Regions from separate parts of the Homo sapiens genome. Here all the other regions are linked to region 6. The links are contacts of gene promoters, found by promoter capture Hi-C in blood cells and fetal thymus (Javierre and others, 2016). All regions are on one chromosome and are shown on one strand. Each heading gives the region's core, a stretch centred on a gene start or on the middle of the fragment in contact. The rest is flanking DNA. Distances are from core to core; before and after follow the strand shown.

Region 1 (4,075 bases), core at 1,403-3,902, 370 kb after region 6:
AAGGTCTGTGGTGCTGGAGTCACCCCAGAGCTGTTGCAGGTGGCCAAGGGCAGCCAGCAGACCCAGCACAGCTGAACCCCACCCCTACCCCAACACTAATCCTGCTCTTAAGCAGGCTTCCCAATTTAGGGTCTCATGGGGAGACTTGAGGGTTGGAAACAGGTCTATGTGAAGCTGAGTTACAGGTCCTTCTTAATCACATGGGAAGCACCGAACCTTCATGTGTCCCCACAACCCCTTTCATGATGGAGCAGAAGCAATGAGAGAAAGAATTGCCTCTGGTTAAGGCCCATAAGGGAAGGGATGGGGAACTAACATCTAATGAGCACCTGCTGTGTCTAGCACCTGGCTCAAAATAAGCCTGCAGAAATAATATCATAGGCATCCCTGTTTTACAACTGAGGAAACTCTGAGACTCCCGAGGTGAATTGACTTGCCCAAGGTCACCCCACTGGCACATGGCAGAACACTGGGCCCAGTTCTGACCACAATCACAGAGCCTTTCCTTACCCTCCCCTTCACCTCTCCCCATCTCCCTGCCCAGCCCAGCCTGGCCCTGCTCACCTTCCCAAGGAGTCAGAGCTCCAGGACCCTTGCTCAACAGCCAGAGCTCTGCTTAGCTCCTTCAGAGGACTTGCCCACCTCTGCCCAAAACACTTGGGCTCAGGCCATTCCTGCTCACGAGTCCTGCTAAAGAACTCCAATCAACTCACAAACAGCTGACACACGACTCTGTGTGTGACTCAGGCCAAACAAACTCACTCCAATCAGAGCTGGTGGGCACCATTTGCCTCCTGCACTGAGTCACCCTCCAGGCTGAGCTTCAGGGATTCGCTGAAACTCAACCACCTACTTAGCCACAGATGTTCCATTGGAGAAAAATCCGGCAGTGGAGCTAAAGCCTCTGACGGTCCTCGTGGATGAGCCATGGCCAAGGACAATCAGGTGTGACCTCAAAGCTCTTCCTGCCCAGGTGATGGGTCCGCCTCACAGAGCCATGGGATAATGTAAGCACAGAACGAGACACAAGAACTCCCCACTGTTAACCTCAACACACTCTGACCTTGTTCTCCAGACATCAGTGAGCGTGTCCAGCAAGGCCTTAACAGTTAGGCGCTAACTAAAGTTTTGGCCGAATTTTTTTGGAGCCATTACAGGATTGTCTTTGTTCCTGAAGTTCCTGTTAACAAGGACAATGCCCGGAAAAGAATCTTCCTCCTCATTACCACTTCCCTGTCTCCCCAACCCACCCCCATCTGCCTCAAGTTCACAGCTGAATTGCCCAAAGGTAGCTCTGGTTAGAAATCTCGTAATCCAAAAGGCCTGTTAAAGTATTTCTTAAAAAAAAAAAGGAAAGAGGAATGGCATCAAAAAATATTTTCTAAAGCCAACTTGACAGGGCCTAGGTCCTGTAAGGTGAATGGCCTTGGGATTTCTGAATTTGATTTCTGACAGGGCTGTCTGGGCTTTAAAAGGAAACATCACGCTTCTTTCCAAGGCAGCCGCGCCCCTGGGGAGCGGCCCACCCATAGTACTGCGAGCATCCAGCATCGCTTCAGAGCACGGCGCACACAGGCATAAATGCAGCAGAGGCCTCTCGACCCGCCAGGACGGCGCCCCCTCCAGATGGGCACCACACGCACGTCCCCTGTCTCAGCCATTCCGTTCCCCAGATGCGCTTCCCACGAGGGAGGAAGGGCTCTCTGCTAGCTCCGAATCCAGCGAGGACCAGCCCCAGGACTGAGAATTAAATATTCATCTCGGGCGTGACAGTTCTGCTTCGCTTGCCAATGTTACTGTCAAGGTCACAGGCCTGAGGCCGAGCGGCTGGGGCTGGGGTCTCCAGCTGCGTAAGAGGCTCCCAGTGGAACTGCGCCCTGGGCGCGCAGTTTCAAGCCGCGGATGGGCCGGACAGGCCCCCTCCGGTTCTCCGCGGGCGCTTGCCTCCGCAGCTAAGCCCAATTTCCTCCGGAGTTCTTGGGCCCTTCTGAGCACCAGAAGCTGAAGCCCGGTGTCCAACCCGTGCGTACGCCGCTGGGGACCCCGATGCGCGAAGGAGAGCGGGCCCCGGGGCTCCGTCGCCAGGCAACGGCGGCTGGAGCGGCGAGAGGAGCCCGGGACGAGCGCAGGGTCGGGCGGATGCGGGGGCAGCGCCGCCTCACACCTTGGTCCTCAGCCCTCCCTGGCTGGGGCGGGGCCAGAACAGGGAAAGTTGCAGTGGCCGGCCCGGTAAAGCCAGGCGGGGCGCGGCCAGCGACTCACCTGTCACGCGTGGGTAGTCGCGCAGACTCGGCCCGTGCACTCCGGCCGAGCAGCTGCGATCCCCGACGGGTCGCGGACGCACAGCTCCTCCCCCGGGCCACAGGCCCCCGGCTGGGGCTGGGGCGACCCGGAGCTGCGCGCCGGCGCACGCGACTCCGCTCGCTCCTCACTCCCTGCCTCACCACCAGTCCCAACCTGGCTCCCGCCCGCCGCGCGCTCGGGGCTCAGGGGAGCGGCGCGGGGACCCAGGTCCCACGGCGGAGAGAGCGCGCGGGATTGCGAAGACTGGGGCCGAGTGCCGCCCTCCCTGCGCCCTGGCAGCGCCGGCTCTGCGGAGCAGAACGGAGCTGGGCGGAGCGCTGCGCGCACTGTTCCCTCGCTTTCCGAAAGGCCACCCTGGCGGCGGGGCGCCGTGACGCAGGCTTGACTCACGCGCGGGCCGGCGTCAATGCGAGGCTCTCGGGCAGCGAGCGAGGCTCTGATGGCCGACGTAGGCGGAGAGGGTGGGCGTGGGGCGGGAGAGGGAGTTGCAAGGGGGCTTAGCTTCTTGAGGCCCCTGGTCAGGGGATGCAGACCCTGGAGCCCTCGCCAGGGCTTCTGCCCTCGGAGAGGAATGGGGCCCCAATGGTTAAAGCCCTCCTGGACCCTGGGCCTCACTTTCTTCTTTTCAGACTCACCTCTTTTGGCCTTCTTTAATGAACTCAATCTCAATTCATGTGGTTATTTCCCCTGCCCTAGACATTTCCACCTCCGTGCTTCTGTTCCCTTTCCTCTAGATGTCCTTCCACTCCTCCGTCCTTCCATCCTACCATTCTGCAAGGCCGTTCCCTGTGCAGGTCAACTCTTAGGACATCACTCATCTGTTGAGCACCTACTGTATGCCAGGGGCTGCAGAGGCTGAAAGGATCACAGACGTGAGGGAACCTCCTGGAGAGGCAGTGTGGGTTGACCCAGGTCTTTACAGTACAAAGCGAAAGGATTGGAGAACCGTACAAGATGAGTAAAGTGGGGAGACAGTGACAGGGAAATTCTGACTGGTCTCTGAGTAGGCCTCTTGGAAGATCCTGGCCTAAAGGATGGACAGTCAGAAGGGGAGAAGGATGACCCCTGTGGAGTGGACAGCATGGCAAGGGCATAGATGCAAGAGAGTAGAAACGTATGCGTGGGGTGGGGTGGTGGTTGCCTGAGCTGGAGCAGGGGTGGGGATGATGAGAGGTGAAGTTAGACAGGGAGGCAGGAGCCATCCTGCCAGGGCCTTGGGGGGCTGTTATGAGAGTCTGGATGAATTATCTCTCTTCTAGGGAACACTAAGGGGGCCTTTGGCATCCAAGGGAGGTGTTTGGGAGGAATGGGAGATGGAGGTTGTCTTAGTGAAAGGTGGTAAGGGCCATTGTCAAGAACTCTGAAGAGTCTGAGATTTTACACTTACAATCTAAGTTACCCTGCCAGTTTCATGGATGCCATCAGAAGACAGGAAACTCTGGGCCAGACACAAAGGACTTTAATTACTCATGGCACAGCAGGCTGCAAGAGCTTCACATTCAGATCACCTTCCCTTAACTCTGAAGTCCTATGGGTGGGACATGAGACTGGACCACACACACTGAGAAACTCCAAGCTTAGGAAACCTCAATCTTTTATAATGCGCTGCAAGCAAACTTGCCCGACATTTGCCTTAGACATATCTTTATTATACTGGACAGCAAACAGAACTGCTCTCCACTAGAGGGAGACGCTATCGTTGGAGGCTGTTTGCTATGCAACCATCCTCTAAAAGATAATGGGAACAAAAAAGCCATCAGTGCCTCTGCCC
Region 2 (4,021 bases), core at 1,001-3,500, 350 kb after region 6:
GGCTCAAAAGCACAGACTCAACTCTCAGACCAAACAGCTGTCTCCTTCCTGTGATAATTTGCCTCCTCCTAAAAAATATTTAAGACAACTTGATATAGACTCTGTCTCAAAAAACAAACAAAGAAAAACCTGTAAAAATACTGGACAGTTAAAGGTAGAGATAAAAAGGGATTGCAGGAATCAGAGAAGATAGAAAAAGGAAGGCAGGAATGTGGAATGGAAAGCTCAGAATTCTGAGAGTTGACAATGCTTTTCCTCTAGGGTAGTTCTTTATGTCTGGTGCCATGGTGATTGGTGTCACTGTGAACAATCAGACTGTGGCAAGAACACTGCCCTGGGTGTGAGTGCTTGTGTGTGGCATAGAAAGGGATTCTGGAATTCATCACCAAGTGCCCAGGCAGAACTGATCATCTAAGCTAGAAAGAACAAGGTTAGAAGTTCCCAGCTAAGTCCTCCAATGCCACACGTCCTTTGAAGTCATTTTGGTTGCCTTGGAGCTCTTCTCAACATCTCACAGGGCATAAAGAAACCATATACTTGTATATCTTTGCTTTGGGCTAGTCTTACATCAACTCAGTTACCATGCCATGCAGGCCACAAGCTCTGATTGACAGTTACTTATTAAAAAGTAAAAAAGATCTTTCAAGCAAGGAGACCATGCAGCTAATATAACATGCTATGGGGGAAAGATGGAAGCCTTTGGCCTAATTCAATCACAAGAGTTCAGGTGGGCATTCTCACTCCCTGCCCTTCAAAAGAAACTGGAAAGGAGAAGCCTCCCAGCCAAATGTGGCCTTCTAAACTAGGGAAAGATGCATCCTGGAGAGGAGGGGACTGCGTCTTTGGAAAAGGTTACATGGCAAGAGTTCCACAAGCAAGGAAGGAAGGACTGGGGTAAAATGCCTGCCAAGCTGGGGCCACCCAACAGGCTGGAGCATGCCATGCCAGGCACAGGGACTCAGGAGCACAAGAGCTCTTGCTAGTTGACTTTCCCAGGACCAGAGGTCTGGGCTTGCAAAACTCTTTGTTTCCAGCCTATTGGGGTTTTCTTTATTTTTAGTTAGTTGATCTCTGGTTTCAGGGAAAGCTGCCTTTGGACAATTCCTGGGGGCTGGAAGTGGTGGTAGTGGTTTGATACCAGGGGCAACATCCTCAAGAGGGATTCAAGCCTAGGGGGCAGTGTGAAGGCCCCTCCTACCCGGAAGCAATAGGTGTGGAGGCTAAGTGCCCAGGCTCTGGGCAAGCCTGTCCAGGTTTGCATCCTGACTTTATCACTAGCTGTAACCTTGATCACCCACAACCTTGAACAAGTTATCTAACCAATTTGTGCCTCAGTATTGTAGTCTGTAAAACAAGGATGATAACAACTCCTTCATATAAGGCTGTTGGGAGGATTCGATGGTTGAATCACATAAAATTGGTGCTTTGTTGTTCTAAGATGCTCAAATATCAGCAGTTTCAGGCACTTAGCCCTAATATCCATTAAGCCCTTAGAACAGTGCCTAGTACCTCATAAGCATTTAGTAATAATGGCCAACAGGTGCTCCTTACCGTGTCAGGTAGCGTGTTGCCCATTCTGCACGTAAAGCTCATTTAATCTTCCCAACTATCCTATGAGGCAGGAGCTACTATTATTTTCATTTTGCAGATGAGGCACAGAGAGGTTAAGCAATTTGTAGTAGGTCCCAAAGTTGATTGGCAGGGCTGGAATCTGAACCCAGGCAGTCTGGGGCCAGAGCCCACTTTCTTATCATGTCCTGTAGTCTCTTGGTAGCTACTAACCATCATTATAGCTATTCCTGGGCTGTCTTACTCTGGAATCCTGAGCTCCAACCTACAAGGGCTCCAGTTCTGCCTCAGCAAAGGGGTGTTCTTTTTTACCCCTCATCCCCGGCCTATTTGCAGGGGACCCCTGATGCAGGCAGAGCTGTCTCTTACCTCCTCCATTTTTCTGGCACAGGTAGGGGAACCTCCAGATGTTGCCGAGGCCCACAGAGAAGCCAATCTGGGCCAGGATGTACTGCAGCTTACTGTTCCAGGCCGGCCGGTCCTCTGCATCCAGCTCCTCCTCCACCGCCTTCTGCTTGCCGCCTGCCTCACCAGCCACATTCAGTACACTCTGCTTATAGTCCACAGGCTCCTCGAGGGCCAGCAGGTCGGCCACGGACTCAGTGACATGCTCACTGCTGTGCTCACGCTGGGTCACTTTGCTGTTCTTCGGCATTGATGCCACCTGGGCCGTGTAGCCCTGCTCCCCAGCACACAGAGAAGATGGAATTCAGCTGCTGTCAGCTCCTTCTCATTCAGGGACCTAGGAAACCAGGTGAGCAGTAAAGGATTATCTGACCACACCAGGAAGGTGAGGAGCCCAACGTGGACACAACCCAAATTAACTCCCCATCACACTGTGAGGCAGGTCAAGGGCCTCATATATGCAGCTTGCCCTAGCTCCCCATCAGGGGCTGCCCGGTGAGGAGCTCAAGGCCTACAGACTCAGTTTCTCCAGAGGCTTGACCCGAGCATTATTTGAAAAGTAAACCTAAAGGGGCAAAATAGGCAAAGCCATACTCCGAACCCAAGTAGAGCATTATCCGTGAAGACATTTCCCTCTTCCATACTGCAGAGCTTAGAGTGCTCAAGCCCCTTTGGAGGCCCATACAGCCTTCCCCTTCCAGGTGTTCTGCTTAGCCAAAACCACATGGCGGAAGCCACGGAAGCCAGCGCCTTCCTTCCTTAGGGCCTTTTCATTCAAAATGCAGGGATTGCACCAGGAACTGGTTAGAAAGGGGCATCTTAGGCTCGCACCAGACCTCCTGAATCAATCTCTGCCTTTTTACAGGATCCCCAGGTGATTTAAAAAAAAAAAAAAGGCTCTTGAGCCATCACCAGGGGGCCCCTGGACACCAGTGCCGATGGCATCTCCATTCCCCTAGCTGGACTGGTTGACCAGGCTCAGCTAAAGATTCTGGCACCAGAAGCCAAGGGCTGTTTGCTCAGTGCCAATGAATCTTGGGTCATTGCTCAGCACTGACATTATCTGAGGACTTCTGCAGCCAAGAGCTGGTTCTCCATCCTTCAGCGACAGTTTTACAGCAGATAATGTCTGCACGACATGGGCGGAGGAGGCAAAACCCTCCCCTACTCCTGCCAGTCCTCATTTGTCTTTCATGCTTTCCCTTAAAGAAATAAAGCACCAAGAAAACGAAGCCTTTGAAGAATTCCACCATTCCGTTATATTTCAAGGCACCCCCTCATTAAGGGAAGGTTGGAGGATTTAAAATTAAACACACACACCCCAGCCTGCGGTTGCCCTGCATCTTTCTAGGGATGTAACTTACCCAGCTCTGTAATTACTTTATTAAGGGAAAGAGCTGTCTCTGGAAGCTGGGCTCCGTTTGTTCTCCTCGTAGGTACGTGCCACCTGAATGGCACAGGCAAGGCTGCTGTGCAGTTCAAGGGCCAGGCCCGTCCTTCCTGCCAGCCTTGACCCAGACATCCTGGCTGACCCCAGCCAAGGCCTGACCATCAAGGAGACCTGCCAGCCAGGCCCTGTTACACATGTAATGAAACTGGGAGGTTTATGGGGTTGGCTAGCCCTCCGTAGGCCAGGTCTTGGACCACATTAGCAGGTGACACCTGCTGCCCTCCTCTTCCAAGGGAACAGTGAGTCTTTAGTGACTGCCCCCTCACACCTCAAGCATAGACAGGGTTAGGCTTTGGGGTAACTATGACAGGGCCAGCCTGGTTAGAGGACCACAGAATTCCCTATAAGAAGCTCTCTGCTGGGACTCACTTCCCAGTGGGTCAGTTGAACACCCCATTGCATCCTAAAAGGTGCCCCACGGGTGGCACTTGTGCATCTGTGGAACTTTCAGCCCTGGGCCTCCCCCCAGGGCTGCCGTGTTGCCTGTGCTACACAAGTGAAGTACGGCCCTAGGAGTTACGCAACGGAGAGGCCTGTGTCCTTGCCTGGGCTGCCAGGGCGAGCTCCTCTCCTCACTCAGCAGGTCCCCGTCTGCAG
Region 3 (3,832 bases), core at 569-3,068, 390 kb after region 6:
CATCTCTCTGGCACCACTGCAGGGGCTTCCACAGGGGTTCCTCCACCAGGCACACCTGATTCCTTGTTCCCCAATGCCTCCTACCACTCTGTGTCCCAGGAGAGGCACCCTGTATCTGTCAGAGGTCCACAGAGAAGCAGAGCCAGTAGGAGATGTATATGGATTTGTTGCAGGAAATTGGCTTATGCAAGTGAGGAGCTGGCTACACAGGTGGTCAGGAAGGGAAAGTCATGGCAGGCTGAATCGCACAGGCATGAGTCCCTCTCAGGGAAGGGCTAAGCCTTAAAGGGCTTCCAACTGACTGAGTCAGGCCCACCCAGGATAATCTCCCTAATTTAAAGTCAACTGATTAGGGACTGTAATTACATGTGCAAAATCCCTTTACAGCAGCACCTAAATTAGTGTTTGACTGAATAAGAGAAAGAAGGGGAGTATATGTGACAAAATGGCCCTGCCTCCTTCTGTCCTCCAACTTTCATGAGAGACTATCGCCTGTGGCCTACCCTATCTGGAAGCACACTGGAGAATGAATTCTGGATAATGTAATTTTGCCCGGCCAAGCTAACACACTGCGAAGCCTTCACATACTTCACTGGCTTAAATCTGCACAAGAGCACAGTAGCCACACTGCACGACAACCTACAGGCATAGCTTACATTGTCTTGCACCATCCTCATGACAGATCTTTGAAGGGAATTTAATTATTTCATTTTAGTGGTGACTTAACCTCACACACAGCTGCTAAGTGGCAGAGCTGGGATCTGAATCTGTGTTTACCTGACTCATTCAGGTCCTCAATGGGGTGTGAGTCTGATAATGAGAGGGAAGAGAAAAGAGCTTTGGTTTCTGGCTGTACTCCAGAAAAGGCCAGAGGAATAGAGACCTAGGTTTCCAAGGCCTAAATTTTGGTTTTGCTGGGACTTCGTTCTGGATGATAACAAGATAGGGTATCATGAGTAAGAGATTTTGCTCTCCAACATACGGTGTTTAAAAGGTCTCGTTTCTTTGTCCAGATTAAATGTAATCTGCTCCAAAACTCCATCCTACCAGCCCAGAGGGAAATTCAATTTGCCATATTAAAGCTTCCTTGCCCATGCACCATCAGAGGCAAGCAAAGACTCTGGGGTCTCCCACATTGCAGAACATTTAGAGGAGAGTCTGCTGGTCTTCACACATTCTGTCTACACAGGTATGCTCATTGACCAATTCTCATGATTCAGGAAGGGTGATGGGTCCCTGCTTCTAGGCCAATTTGGGGAAGGGTCTCTGCTTAGAGTCAACCTTCTCAGGGTACCCTGCAGCCATTGTCCTAAGGCTCTGTCACCTCCCTGGGGTCCCATAGGGAAGGATGGCTCCAGTCTCATCTATCGTGGACCCCCCACCCCCAACACATCTCTTTAGTCTGCTTTCCTTCCAACTTTCCTCCCACTGCCCCCTTCTCCAAGATAATCCAACACAATCTCATCAATGAACCTAGAATTTGACAAAACAAAAGCCAACAATGTGTGAGAATAGTCTTCTGAGTGATTAACAATTGATACTTTTGGCTCTACCACCCCAAACAGTAGCAACAGTAAAGTTTACTGTACACTGTACTTTTACTATGTTCTAAGCTCTTCATTTGTGATCATTCATTTAATCCTGTCTATAAGTCACTAAGGTAATAGATGCTACTTATCTCAGTCTGGATGATAACAAGGTAGGGTATATGAGTTGTCTCAGTCTGTGTTGCTATACAAGGAATGCCTGAGGCTGGGTAATTTATAAAAAAAATAGGGTTTATTTGGCTCATGGTTCTGCAAGCTGTACAAGAAGCATGGTGCTGGCATTTACATCTGGTGTGGGCCTCAAGCTACTTCCACTCATGTTGGGATCCCTGCCTGGAGTGTGCAGGGATCACACAGCAAGACAGCAAAATCACAAAAGAAATGAGGAAGGTGCCAGGCTCTTTTAAACAACCAGCTCTCATGGAACTAATAGAGTGAGAACTCACTCATTACCATGAGGATGGCATCAAGCCATTTGTGCAGGATCCATCCCAATGACCCAAACACCTCCCATTAGGCCCCCCCTCCAACACTGGGGATCAAATTTCAACATGAGGTTTGGTGGGGTCAAATATCCACGTGAGGTTTGGTGGGGTCAAATATCCAGACCATAGCACCATATGATTAGCTACTTTGGTTAAGGTAACATGCCCAATGTCAGCCCAGCTCACAAGTGGCTCCTAGCATTCTAACTCAAGGACCTATGCCCTAACTGCTACTCTGTGCCATCTCTCACCAAAATCTGGTATAAGGCAAGGCTGCACAAAGGACTGGTTGTAGCCCTGAGCTGGGGAAGAGATGATTAGTTATAAAAGTGAGATCAAGCCACAAACTAAAGTTGCAATAAATTGTTCCACCTATGTGGGTGGGGAGTAGGGAATGGAAGTAAAGGATTCGGATACTGGATCTGCTATGTACCAGCTCTATGACCTTGGGAACTCACTTAACCTGAGTTTCAATCTCCTCAAATATAAAATGGGGATGATAATGACAACTTTTCAAGCTTATTGAGAGGACTAAAAGAGAAAAAGTATGTGAGAGCTCTTCATACCCTCTACACCTGTGAAGATATTACATGTTAAGGACATTGAGCAGAACGTCTGCCTCGACAATGCCTGGGTTTAATAACCTCCACTTTGGCAGTCAACAACAAAAGAATGCCCAGTGGCAAGGGCAGGTCCCTCTGCTGGGAGCTGGAGAACCAAGGAAAAAGCTATCTTAGAGACAAAGACAGAGTTTGTTTCCTGCACTAAAGAGACTGGAAAGTGTGTAACCACATTTGCCAGACTCCTTTGCAGCTAGGGTTCATGTGAGACCCAGTTCCACTAAGAGAATCCCCACATGAACCTGGGGAGGGGATGGAGAGAGGAGCTATAGAGTTAAAAAAAAAATGTAAAGCAGTGGTAGGCCAAGGGGATTAAGTCCCCTGGGCCAGCTGTGGGGGTTTCTAGCATGTCTTCCCTGAGGAGTGGACAGCAGAGCGGTATTTCCACCAGATCTGTCCTGTGAGATGCTCAGGTATTTCTCCTGACTGTGATCTTCTGGGCCATGTAGTGTCTTGGCCCTCTCCAAGATTCTATGTAATATCCTCTAATAAATTCCTTTCTGCTTAAATCAGCCAGAGTGAAATCTGTTGTCCCCAATTTAGAACAGTAACTCATACCAGAAGAGATTCTAAGCAAGAAACCCTCAAGGAAATGAGAATCTGGGACTGGTTTTCTGAACACGTTGCATTTTGAGGCAACAGGGAGCTGGTCGGCATCAGAGGACAGGCTGCTGGTGGTGGGTGGCTCACTGTGATGAAACAGTTACTGACGGGCCTGAGGCTGTGCAGCATGGCAGCTGTCAGAGGCAAGGCTTCAGCAAACTGAGCAGCACTGAGGTAAAGCTTGTCAAAATCTTGTGTTATCAAACATTTCAAACACACACAAAAATAGAGTAGTATGAACAACCCTATGCACCTTGTACCCAGCTTCTAAGGTCACTCCATGGCTCCAGAAACTGCCTCTGTCCCACTTCACCAGATTATTCTGAAGCAAATCTTATGTACCATTTCATCCAAAAATATTTCACTGTGCATTTCTAAAAGATGACTTTTTAAAACCATAACGACAATACTATCATCACACATTTAAAAAATGCATACTAACATTTACTAGCATCAAATATCAAATTGATGTTCAGATTTCCCTGATTGTCTTGCTTTTTTTTAAACAGGTTGTTCAAATCAGAATGAAGATAACTCCACACATTGCAATTAGTTGTTATGTCTGTTCAATTTCTTT
Region 4 (3,950 bases), core at 210-2,709, 330 kb after region 6:
GTTATGAGCTTCAGATTACTCATCTGAAGAAAAGGGAATAGTAATAGAGTCTCGGAGTGAACGTGAGGATCAAATGTATAGCAACAAGTAATGCCTGTACGTAGTGGCACTCAATCCCAACAGAATGAGGCTGACCTCGTCAGGACAGGGTGTTTTGTGTTTTGCGGGGGTGCAGGAAGCAAGGATTACTATTCATGTTTTTAAAGGGTAAACTGAGACCCCAAAGATGAAATGACTTGCTCAAGGTAATGGAGCTGGTTAGTCGGGGCAGAGTGATAACTAAAATATAGATATTCTGGGCCAGGCCCCCGCCCCCGGCCCCAGCACCAACTCCTGACTCAGTTTTTCTATCACCTATACTCTTTAAAGCATTTTCCCCTGTGACCTTTGCTGCTGAGGTGAACCTAAGTGACCTCACTCCAGACAGACTAAGGAGGCAAGGAGCCAATTCAGAGAGTTCACTTCCCTGTGGTGACAAGCCCTGTGTGGGTCCTGGCCCGGCTGCCCCTTCTGAGTACCTGTGGGTAAGTCCTCACCTGAACAGTGAGGTGTTGGACTCTAGGGTCCGTCTGGACTTTAGCTGTCTTTAATATCACAGCCCTAAATAACATCCAGGACACAGGGCCCACCTGCCATCATCTCAGCAGCTTCCTAGGCATGTCTCAACTCCTGGCAGCACTCCAACAGCTGAGATGTTGGCAAGCTCAGAGCGCTGGCAGAGCAGTGAGGCTGAGGGCGGCACCCCCATGCTGAGGGGAAAGAGGTGGGGGATGGTAGTCGAGCCTTTGAGCTTCAGGGCCTGGGCACAAATGGAGACCCAGGAGGACTGCCTGGTCAGACAGCATGTGTACTCCAGGGGAGATTAAGGTCCCCCATCCAGCACAAAATAAGTAAAACCATCTTTAGTCCACCAAGAAAGCCCAGAACCCAGGCCTTAAGGATCTAAGGGCCCCTTGGCATCTATGAGGAGACCCTCTCCCCAGCCCACCCCTGTGTACTTATTAGGTATAAGGTGTCAAGGCCTCCCTGTGGCAATGACATGTAGCCACTCATCCATCAATCTCTGAGCACCTGCTGTGGGCCAGGCCTGGTGCTAGGCGATGCAGAGGCCATGGGGAATAGAAGCAATCAGGCTCTCCAAGTTTACATTCTAGTTGGAGAGAGACACATTGGTCAAATGATCCCACGAACAAATGCTAAATTGCAAATGTGACAAGGGCTGTGAAGGCTGGGCACCCAGTGCTTGGAGAGCCCATAAGAAGGGGATCTGAACAAGTTGGGAGGCCAGGCAAGGCTTCCCAGAAGAAGGGGTCCTCAAGCTGACATTTGAAAGCTGATGAAAGCGAGGCCACAAGGGGAGGGAAGAACATTCGGGAAGAAGCATGGACAGAGGTCCTGAGATAGGACAGAGGATGGTGTGTAAAAGGGAATGGAAGGTGCCAGGGTGGCTGAAGCAGTGAGGACGAGGTGGGGGTGGCACAGGTAGGGCTGGGAGAGGAGAGAAGTTAGATCAAAGGCCTGTACAGATCCTGTCTTCACCCTAAGAAAGCACCTAACCCAAGAAGCCACCGAGGGGTTTAAAGAAGTGGGGACACAATCATGTGCATTTCCAAAAGAAATAAGTGGATTCAGCAGACCTTCGAGGAAGCGGCTTCTGGGGTCCAGGCTGGAGGGGACAGTGGCTTTGCTAAGGGGCTGGGTGGTGCCAATGGAGAGATCTTCGCAGGACAAACCAAGGAGACCTTCGGGATGGACTGGAGATGGGAGATGCTGGAGAGGGAGAGGCCGAGGTGAGGGCCATGTCTCTGGCCTGCATACCTGAGCAGGTGGAGATGGGGACAGTGGGAGAGGAACAGGTTGATGGTGTTGGGCAGGGAGGATCAGGACATTAGTTCTACAAAGGTTGAGCTGAATGTGTCTTTAAGACATCTAAAATGAAATGCCAAGTGGTCCGCTGGACAGATGAGCCTGGAGCCAGAGAGAGACAAGCTGGAGATAGACTTTCTGAGTAGCAGGTGTGCTGGCAGGAGCTGAGGCTGTGGCTGTAGTTACAGAGGGATAAGAAGCAAAAGCCTGCTCCTATCTCCAACACTGAATGCAGGGAAGAGGGAGAGTCTCCTGAAAGGGAGTCAGAGAAGGAGAAGCAGCAGAGGCAAGAGGAAAACCCAGAGCCTGGAGGAGGAAGGGTCAGTGCTGCCAGTGAAAGACCCTGAGGGAGTCCACGCAGGAGGCCACAGGGGGCTTCAGAGGCTTCCTCGGAGTTGCTCCCTGGCAAGAAGCCAGGGGAAGTGAAGAAAAGAGAGAGGCAGAGGGGAGGAAATGGAGGCAATGTGGGTAAGCAGGTCCTCGGAGAAGCAAGCCTCGGATCAGGAGAAGGGCAGTATCCGGAGAAGGCTATGAAATCAACAAAGGGTTGCATTTTTATATGTTGTCTTGATTTCTTTTTTGTTTTTGTTTTCAATGGAGTGTCTTGAAAAGCTGGAGGGTAGGGATCGGGATGGGGTGGGAAGCTGTCCTCCATAGGACCACCCTTGGGCTGCTCATTTGAGAGAGGAGGGAGGGAGGACAGGATGGGGCAGCTGCAGGCAGGTTTTATGGTCGGTTTCTGTCTCTGTCATCTGAGGGAGTTTCTTGGCAGCTTCTGTTTTCCCTGTAAAGCAGGAGGCAAAATCATCTGCTGGGGATGAGTATGCCGGAAGGAAGGTCAGAGGGTGTGAAGGATTGGAAGGGTTTAAAATAGCCACAGCGGAGCATGGGAGAGCCAGGTGACCAGAGAAACAGGGCAGGGCTGTCCTGTACTGCTGGGGGCCCACCCCCTTGCATAGGCGGATGTCTGGTTTTTAAAGTAAGATGAAATGTTACCTTCTTTACAAATGTAATACAGGCCCACGGTTCCTTATCTAAAAGCCCTGGGGGCTGACTGGTTTTGGAATACAAGCTTTTGTTTCTAATTTAATTTTAGAAAGGTAATGTGATGCATATGCTACTTAATTACATATCACCCCCAGCAGGGTCTGGGGCAGCACCCTGTAATCAAACACGTTAGTATTTCTGCAGCAAAATATGAATATTCACACCAAGTGAATCAATAAAGACTATAAATAGCCTCACATCTGTGCAGGTCATTTTGCTTCCAAGTGAGTTCTGGAGGATCAAAACCAAACCAAACCAATTTTTGTTTTTCATGGCTATTTGGATTTTGGTATTGTGGATAAGGAAATGGGGGCCTGTACTGTGCCTAGTAGAAATCTGGAGAATAGAAAAGGAGAAGAAAACAATCATAGTTCCACTGGGAAAGGACTTGTGTTAATTCCCATCTCTTGGGTGAGTTTTTGAAAAATAATTTTTCAAGAATGCTCCAGAAATGGGCATAAGGGTGACTTATGCCTGGAAGGCATGCTGGCTGGCCTCCTCTGGTATTCGCAAATGTCAATCACAACAGCCCTACCACAATCTGCTGGAGCCTGGGCGCTTCTCCTAGGCTAGAAACCAGCACCTCATGGGAGGGCTCTGAGCAGTTTGGTGAGTTCTAACTAGGAAGAATTATGAAATTTTCTAAAAGAAGGTATGTTGAGATTATTAAATCAAGTTTAGCCTAAAGCTGCCTCCTTAGATATTTTAAGTTTGGCCTAAAGGTTTCTCTGTACATCATGAACTGTAAGAAGTGGAGGTGTAAACAGACTGTAGCCTACCCTTGTGCCAATCACTGAGTTTTGGCCAATCAAATGTGGTCAACTGCTCGAACCAACTTCAAATAAGGCAAACACCAAGCTGTGACCAATCCAGCTGTTTCTGCACCTCACTTCCATCTTCCGTAAGTCACTTTCCTTTTTCTGTCCATAAATCTTCTTCCATCACATGACTGCACTGGAGTCTCTGAACCTACTCTGGCTCGGAAGGCTGCCCGATTCGCGAATTGTTCTGCCTGATTAGCGAATTGTTCTGCCTGA
Region 5 (3,574 bases), core at 176-2,675, 350 kb before region 6:
TGTTTCTTCAGTCTGTCCTCAGGAAGAAGGGAGGAGAGCCTTCTAAAATGCAAATTTAATCACATGACTCCCCAGCTTAAAACTCTCAGCCGGCTATTTCTTCCCCGGCCCCACCCCCAAGATCTCCTCACACTGGGTAACACTGGATATGGAATTCCTTTTAGTTGCTTAAACAAATCAATCTAGTTCTGTCTCACGAGCTCTCTCTAGAATATCCTCTCACCTGTTCACTTAATTCCTTACTCATCCCCCATCATAGCACCAGAAAGCCCTCCAGGCAGGAACAGTTACTCCTGCTCTCTGCTCCCATTGCCCACAGGCATTCCTCCACCCTCTGTCATTCCTTGTTTTTCATTGTTTTCCCCACTAGACTGAAAGCTCTGTAGGTTCTGTGTTACTCTGTGTATGTTGGGTGATCTTGCTCATGACTGTATTTTTAGTGCCTGGTATTGGGTCTGGCACATAAGAGGTGTTCTATAAATATTTGAATAGTTTCAGGTAATGTGAGGCCTGCAAGTTAGGGGAACCAGAAATTTGGGACAGGCAGAGAGAGTAAGGAGAAGAAAGAGATAGGTAGACTGAACATCTGCAGAGAGAGAAGTGATAAATAAGGGGGAATCTTAGGAATATCGGGAAGACTATCTCAAGACAAATTGTTCACAGCAAAATAGGTGACCATTTTAATGCAGAACATTTTTCCTTGAATGTGCCTCTTTCCATCATTTCACTGGGAAGGGTTGTTCCAAGTGCCGGACAACTAGAGGTGGCTGTTTCCTGGGTTTAGGGGTTTGGTAGAGAACAACGTGCCCACTTATACCCATACCTATAAAATTTTATTGAGAATTAATTCTGTTTCTGACCATCAGATATTTAGAATTCATTTGGAGGGACAAGAACAAAAACAAATAGAGAATAAGACAATATCAGGAAACCCCATGTTATTGAATAACCCAAAAGAACGCTCAAAAACTTTGAAAAAACTAAATTAGAAAAGGCATTTAGCAGAAGCTCAGACTCATGGCTTGGTCTTCTCAATACGGGGTATATTGATCACCATCATAGATGATAATAGAATCTGAGAGTTTAGGAAACTTGAACTTGGCCAGACGAATAGCGGGAATACAAATTATGAGTACTCTACTACTGTGCAGTCGTATTTGCCAAAATACATTCTGAATAGACAAATACTCACATAGACATTTTGTATTTAGCCCCCATTTAGGCCTTTTTCAAAAGCCTTCTAAGTGAGTAGTTCTGTTTTATTATTGGAAGATAATCACTGTTGAAATATGAGAATACAGATAGAACTTCCAAGTTTATTTCAGAGTTATTTAAGTATATAAGGATATTAGAGTTTAAGAGGCATAGATTTTGTGAGAATTATAAGATTGGAAACTTCAAATGGGAGATTAAAGTTAACTAGTAGTACATTGGATTTTGCTTATGGGCTCTAAGAGTAAAGTTTTGAAGAAAATGCTGTAGAACATCATTCTTAACTTTCATTTTAGGTTCAAACGTACATATGCAGGCTTATTATATAGGTAAATTGCATGTGACAGGGTTTTGGTGTACAGATTATTTCATCACCCAGGGGGTAAGTATAGTGACCAACAGGTAGTTTTTTAATCCTCTCCCTCCTTCCCCGCTCCACCCTCAAGTAGGCCCTAGTGTCTGTTTTTCCCTTCTTTGCGTCCATGTGTACTCAGTGTTGAGTTCCCACTTATAAGTGAGAATATGCAATATTTGGTTTTCTCTTCCTGCATTAAATTGCTTAGGATAAGGCCCTCCACCTGCATCCATGTTGCTGCAAAGAACATCATCTCATTCTTTCTTATGACTGCATAGTATTCCATGGTGTATATGTACCACATTTTCTTTATCCAGTCTATCATTGATGGGCATTTAGATTGATTCCGTGTCTTTGTTATTGTAAAGAGTGCTATGATGAACATACACATGCGTGTGTCTTTATGATAGAACAATTTGTATTCCTTTAGATATGTACCCAGTAATGGGATTGCTGGGTCAAAAGGCAGTTCTGTTTTATGTTCTTTGAGAAATTTCCAAACTGTTTTCCACACTGGCTAATCTAATTTACATTCCCACCAACAGCGTATAAGCATTCTCTTTACTCTGAAACCTCGCCAACACCTGTTATTTTTTGGCTTTTTAATAATAGGCATTTTGACTGGTGTGAGATGGTATCTCATTGTGGTTTTGATTTGCATTTTTCTAATAATTAGCGATGCTGAGTATTTTTTCATATGCCTGTTGGCTACATGTGTGACTTCCTTTGACAAATGTCTATTCATGTCCTTTGCTCACTTTTTAATGGAGTTGTTTGGTTTTTGCTTGTTAATTAGTTTAACCTTCTTATAGATTTGGATATTAGACCTTTGTCAGATACATAGTTTGCAGATATTTCCTCCCATGCTCCAGGCTGTCTATTTACTCTGTTGATAGTTTCCCTTTCTGTTCAGAAGCTCTTTGGTTTAATTAGGCCTTATTTATCAATTCTTGTTTTTGTCACAATTGCTTTTGGCATCTTCATCATCAAGTCTTTACCAGGGCCTTTGTCCAGAATGGTATTTCCTAGGTTATTTCCCAGGGTTTTTAAAGTTTTAGGTTTCAGATTTAAAATTTAATCCATCTTGAGTTGATTTTGGTATATGGTATAAGGAAGGGGTCCAGTTTCAATCTTCTGCATATGGATAGCCAGTTAGCCCAGTACCATTTATTGAGTATGGAGTCCTTTCCATATTGCTTGTTTTTGTCAGCTTTGTTGAAGATCAGATGGTTGTAGGTGTGCAGCATTATTTCTGGGCTCTCTATTCTGTTCCATTGGTCTATGCATCTGTTTCTGTATCAGTACCATGCTGTTTTGGTTATGATAGCCTTGTAGTATAGTTCAAAGTCAGGTAACATGATGCTTCCAGCTTTGTTCTTTTTGCTTAGGATTATCTTGGCTATTTGTTTTTAGCTCCATATGAATTTTAAAATAGTTTTTTTCTAGTCCTGTGAAGAATAGTGTTGGTAGTTTGATAGGATTAGCATAGTATCTGCAAATTGCTTTGGGCAGTATGGGCATTTTAACAATATTGACTCTTCCAATTTATGAGCATGGAATGTTTCCCATTTGTTTCTGTCATCTCTAATTTCTTTGAGCAATGTTTTGTAATTCTTATTGTAGAGATCTTTCACCTCCCTGGTGAACTGTATTCCTAGGTATTTTATTCATTTTGTGGTGTTCGTGAATAGGGTTGCATTCTTGATTTGGTTCTCAGCTTGGAAGCTGTTGATGTATATAAATGATAGTGATTTTTGTACATTGGTTTTATATATGTTGACACTTTGCTGAAGTTGTTTATCAGATCTAGGAGCTTTTGAGCAGAGACTATGGGGTTTTCTAGATATAGAATCATATTGTTGGCGAACAAGGATAATTTGACTTCCTCTCTTCCTATTTGGATGGGTTTTATTTATTTCTCTTGCCTAATTGCTCTGGCTAGGACTTCCAGTACTATTTGAATAGGAGTGGTGAGAGTGGGCATCCTTGTCTTGTTGCAGTTCACAA
Region 6 (3,586 bases), core at 330-2,829:
GGAGCACCATCTGCGGTCCAAGACCCCAAAGGAGAAAATGGTGCTCCGAAGACATGAGATCAACACAGAGCTGGAGTCCCCCACCCACAGCCATCCAGCTGCCAAGCAGTTCAGGACAAGGCCCCCAAATCATCATGCGAATTACTGTGAAGCTACATTTCTCCAGGGCTTTACCATGTACAGAGCCAGGATTTGAACTCGGGTGGACTGATTCTATTCTCAGATTCCATCCTGCCTCCCAGCCATCCTACTGCTCACCGAGCCTTGCAGAGCAGGCTGGCACCTGGCATGCTTGGCAGTGGGTACATCCTTCCTCATTCCACAACTGAGGAAGCAGCAGCTCCGTGAAATTAGGCCGTTTGCAATGGCCACATACTCCTGAGAGGTAGAATGGGTACTCTACCAGTGCTGACCAACCAGACTTGAGCTCATCATTCAACACATGGCACCTGAACTGAGAAAAGGGGTCATGGGATGGAAAGAGCTCTGGACCCCTGACAATTCTGTGGCCCTAGCCTACAGCTCCCCACAAGGCTCAGCTCCTATATAGGGACTCCATGGTCTAGTGGGAAAGGCCCTGGGCCAGAAGGCCATGGCCAGGTTTAGGTCAGGACTCTGTAGCACTAGTTATGTGACCTTAGGAAGTCACTTTGTCCCTGTGACTTGGTTTCCGCATCTGCAAAACAGAGATAACATCTAACCTCACGTGATTATTGTCATCTAGTGAGATAAGTGAATGTGGAATCACTTTGAAAAGACTACAACACTACACTGCAGGATAGCCTTGTCGCCTGTAAAGGAAACCTCTCCAAGGCTGTGACCACTACAGATTTTGCCTGAGGTTAAGTCCCTTACTTCTCTCCCACTCCCACCCCCAGCCTGCCTGGGTTCAGTGTTCTTAAATTGAAACTGAAGCTAGAATGAACCTGAGGAAAGAAATATTAGTCTATGTGTATAGATGTCCAAGCCCACTGGGCATGATTTCCTAACCCCACCTCCAGCGTGCGCGCGCACACACACACACACACACACACATATACACACACACACACAGACACACACAATTATTTACTTCCTTCCCACCTAAAATGATTTCTCAAAATGAAATTACTTCCTATGGACACCTTGGACTCAGGCCAAAAAAAATTCCAATTGCTGGTAGTTTCTAAAGTGCTTGTTATGTGGGAAAGTTGACAAAAAACAATAGCTATAATATAGTGATCTTTCTTTCCACCAAGCATTCCATACGTGTTATCTCATTTGAGGTACCTTCAAAACAACTCTAGGAGTTATTTCCAGGTGAGGGGTCATTTAGAGGACATTGTCGATTGGCCAACCCAGCGTCTTGTTTTTCCTTCCCTAAAGAATCCCCATTGGGTTCATAGATCTGGTTCCACCCTTCACCACTTGGTCCAGAAGCAGGGGTGGAAGTGATGCAAAATGGTTGAATTCTAGATATATTTTGAAGACATGACCAAAAGGATGTGTGAGGGACTGGCTGTTGGTGTGAAAGAGAGGCATTACGAATGAGATTGGGCATGGAGACGTGTTTGGTGAGACAGAAGGCTTCATGCAAATACAAGATCATGCTTTTTATTATTAAGGAATGTTAACTTCCTCTTTTAGTATGGCCCCTCTGCCATCACATATGGAGACCATCCTTTGCTGGGGAGAATCTCCCCTTCTTTGCCAGGATCCTTTTTTTGCAATTTCTCCTAGTTATTAGTTTATGCAAACTCAGGGGTACAAAATGATTTTAAGGGAAGCATGCTGCCAAAATAACCATGACGTTCCTTCCCAAGCTACAAATAAGTCATTGATTAGCCCATTGGTGTACCTTACCTCAATAAACAAGGGCCAGTTGTATTCTGCCCTGGATCTTGTATAATGAACTTCTTCTTCTCCATAGCTCACAGCAGGCAGTGAAGGCTGAGGATCTTCATGCTTCTTCCCTGGCTCCCCTAGAATGGATGTGTGTGGCTGGAAAGAAATGGAGGTTGCGCTGGTCAATTTTGATAATTCAGATGAAATCCAAGAAGAGCCAGGCTATGCCACAGACTTCGACTCAACCAGCCCAAAAGGCCGGCCTGGGGGCAGCTCCTTCTCCAACGGGAAGATCCTCATCAGCGAAAGCACCAACCATGAGACGGCCTTCTCCAAGCTTCCGGGAGACTATGCTGACCCCCCAGGGCCTGAGCCAGTGGTCCTAAATGAAGGAAACCAGCGGGTGATCATCAACATTGCTGGGCTGAGATTTGAGACCCAGCTCAGAACCCTTAGTCAGTTCCCAGAGACTCTCCTGGGAGACCGGGAAAAAAGGATGCAGTTCTTTGACTCCATGAGAAATGAGTATTTCTTTGATCGGAACCGGCCCAGTTTTGATGGAATCCTATATTATTACCAATCTGGTGGGAAAATTCGGCGCCCAGCCAATGTTCCCATTGATATCTTTGCTGATGAAATCTCCTTCTATGAGCTGGGTAGTGAGGCCATGGACCAGTTCCGGGAGGATGAAGGCTTCATCAAAGACCCTGAAACACTGCTACCCACCAATGACATCCACCGTCAGTTCTGGCTCCTCTTTGAGTACCCTGAAAGTTCCAGCGCTGCCCGTGCTGTGGCCGTGGTCTCGGTGTTGGTTGTGGTCATCTCCATCACCATCTTCTGCCTGGAGACACTGCCAGAGTTCCGGGAGGATAGGGAGCTAAAGGTGGTCAGAGACCCCAATCTCAACATGAGCAAGACAGTCCTCTCCCAGACCATGTTCACCGACCCTTTCTTCATGGTGGAGTCTACCTGCATCGTGTGGTTCACCTTCGAGCTGGTGCTCCGGTTCGTGGTCTGCCCCAGCAAGACTGACTTCTTCAGGAACATCATGAACATCATTGACATCATCTCCATTATCCCCTACTTTGCAACTCTCATCACAGAGCTAGTCCAGGAGACAGAGCCGAGTGCCCAACAGAACATGTCCCTGGCCATCCTGAGGATCATCCGCCTGGTGAGGGTCTTCCGCATCTTCAAGCTCTCGCGCCACTCCAAGGGGCTGCAGATCCTCGGGCAAACACTGAAGGCGTCCATGCGGGAGTTGGGGTTGCTCATCTTCTTTCTCTTCATTGGAGTCATCCTCTTCTCCAGTGCAGTCTACTTTGCTGAGGTGGATGAGCCAGAGTCCCATTTCTCTAGCATTCCTGATGGCTTCTGGTGGGCAGTGGTCACCATGACAACTGTAGGCTATGGGGACATGTGCCCGACCACCCCAGGGGGGAAGATTGTGGGCACTCTGTGTGCCATTGCAGGGGTCCTCACCATTGCCCTCCCTGTGCCTGTCATTGTCTCCAACTTCAATTACTTCTACCACCGGGAGACTGAGAATGAAGAAAAGCAGAACATCCCAGGAGAAATTGAAAGAATCCTCAACAGTGTAGGCTCAAGAATGGGCAGCACAGACTCTCTTAATAAGACCAATGGTGGCTGTTCCACAGAGAAGTCTAGGAAATGATCAGTCCAGGGCTTCTTGGGTCCATCCTGTCTCTCTTCTCTCTTCTCTCTCTCTCTCTCTCGCTTTCTCCCCTCCTCTCTCTCT

Evidence for each region. The method cuts DNA at HindIII sites, captures the fragments that hold promoters and counts their contacts. A CHiCAGO score of 5 or more calls a contact.
Region 1: the fragment with the promoter of SLC6A17 here is called in contact with the fragment with the promoter of KCNA10 in region 6 in 1 of 17 cell types (neutrophils); the score reaches 5.9 in neutrophils.
Region 2: a contact is called between a fragment that was not itself captured here and the fragment with the promoter of KCNA10 in region 6, in 1 of 17 cell types (neutrophils). The highest score is 8.3, in neutrophils.
Region 3: a fragment that was not itself captured here is called in contact with the fragment with the promoter of KCNA10 in region 6 in 1 of 17 cell types (neutrophils); the score reaches 5.3 in neutrophils.
Region 4: a fragment that was not itself captured here is called in contact with the fragment with the promoter of KCNA10 in region 6 in 1 of 17 cell types (neutrophils); the score reaches 8.6 in neutrophils.
Region 5: a contact is called between a fragment that was not itself captured here and the fragment with the promoter of KCNA10 in region 6, in 1 of 17 cell types (M1 macrophages). The highest score is 5.0, in M1 macrophages.

What each region holds. Positions count from the first base shown.
Region 1 is chr1:110,149,071-110,153,145 of GRCh38, reverse strand. SLC6A17 (solute carrier family 6 member 17) reads right to left here and starts at 2,652. Exons shown (of 12, transcript NM_001010898.4): 1 at 2,263-2,652. RefSeq lists an enhancer at 685-979 and a silencer at 2,608-2,657. The HindIII fragment of the contact is 4,529 bases long and covers 1-3,882 here.
Region 2 is chr1:110,165,133-110,169,153 of GRCh38, reverse strand. It overlaps SLC6A17 (solute carrier family 6 member 17), which reads right to left. Exons shown (of 12, transcript NM_001010898.4): 2 at 1,939-2,311. The coding sequence starts at 2,224. It overlaps SLC6A17-AS1 (SLC6A17 antisense RNA 1), which reads left to right and starts at 303. Exons shown (of 3, transcript NR_183667.1): 1 at 303-727; 2 at 1,961-2,323; 3 at 2,840-3,206. The HindIII fragment of the contact is 4,912 bases long and covers 1-4,021 here.
Region 3 is chr1:110,122,830-110,126,661 of GRCh38, reverse strand. No RefSeq gene overlaps it. Among named protein-coding and RNA genes, the nearest start is that of UBL4B, 12 kb to the right of the region's middle. The HindIII fragment of the contact is 1,468 bases long and covers 1,085-2,552 here.
Region 4 is chr1:110,187,203-110,191,152 of GRCh38, reverse strand. The region is part of intron 6 of SLC6A17 (solute carrier family 6 member 17); the gene reads right to left. Among named protein-coding and RNA genes, the nearest start is that of SLC6A17-AS1, 20 kb to the right of the region's middle. The HindIII fragment of the contact is 2,962 bases long and covers 1-2,940 here.
Region 5 is chr1:110,867,645-110,871,218 of GRCh38, reverse strand. It overlaps a transcript of CD53 not described here. Among named protein-coding and RNA genes, the nearest start is that of CD53, 3.7 kb to the left of the region's middle. The HindIII fragment of the contact is 6,424 bases long and covers 1-3,574 here.
Region 6 is chr1:110,517,168-110,520,753 of GRCh38, reverse strand. KCNA10 (potassium voltage-gated channel subfamily A member 10) reads left to right here and starts at 1,579. Exons shown (of 1, transcript NM_005549.2): 1 at 1,579-3,537. The coding sequence starts at 1,967. The coding sequence ends at 3,502. The HindIII fragment of the contact is 5,009 bases long and covers 1-2,163 here.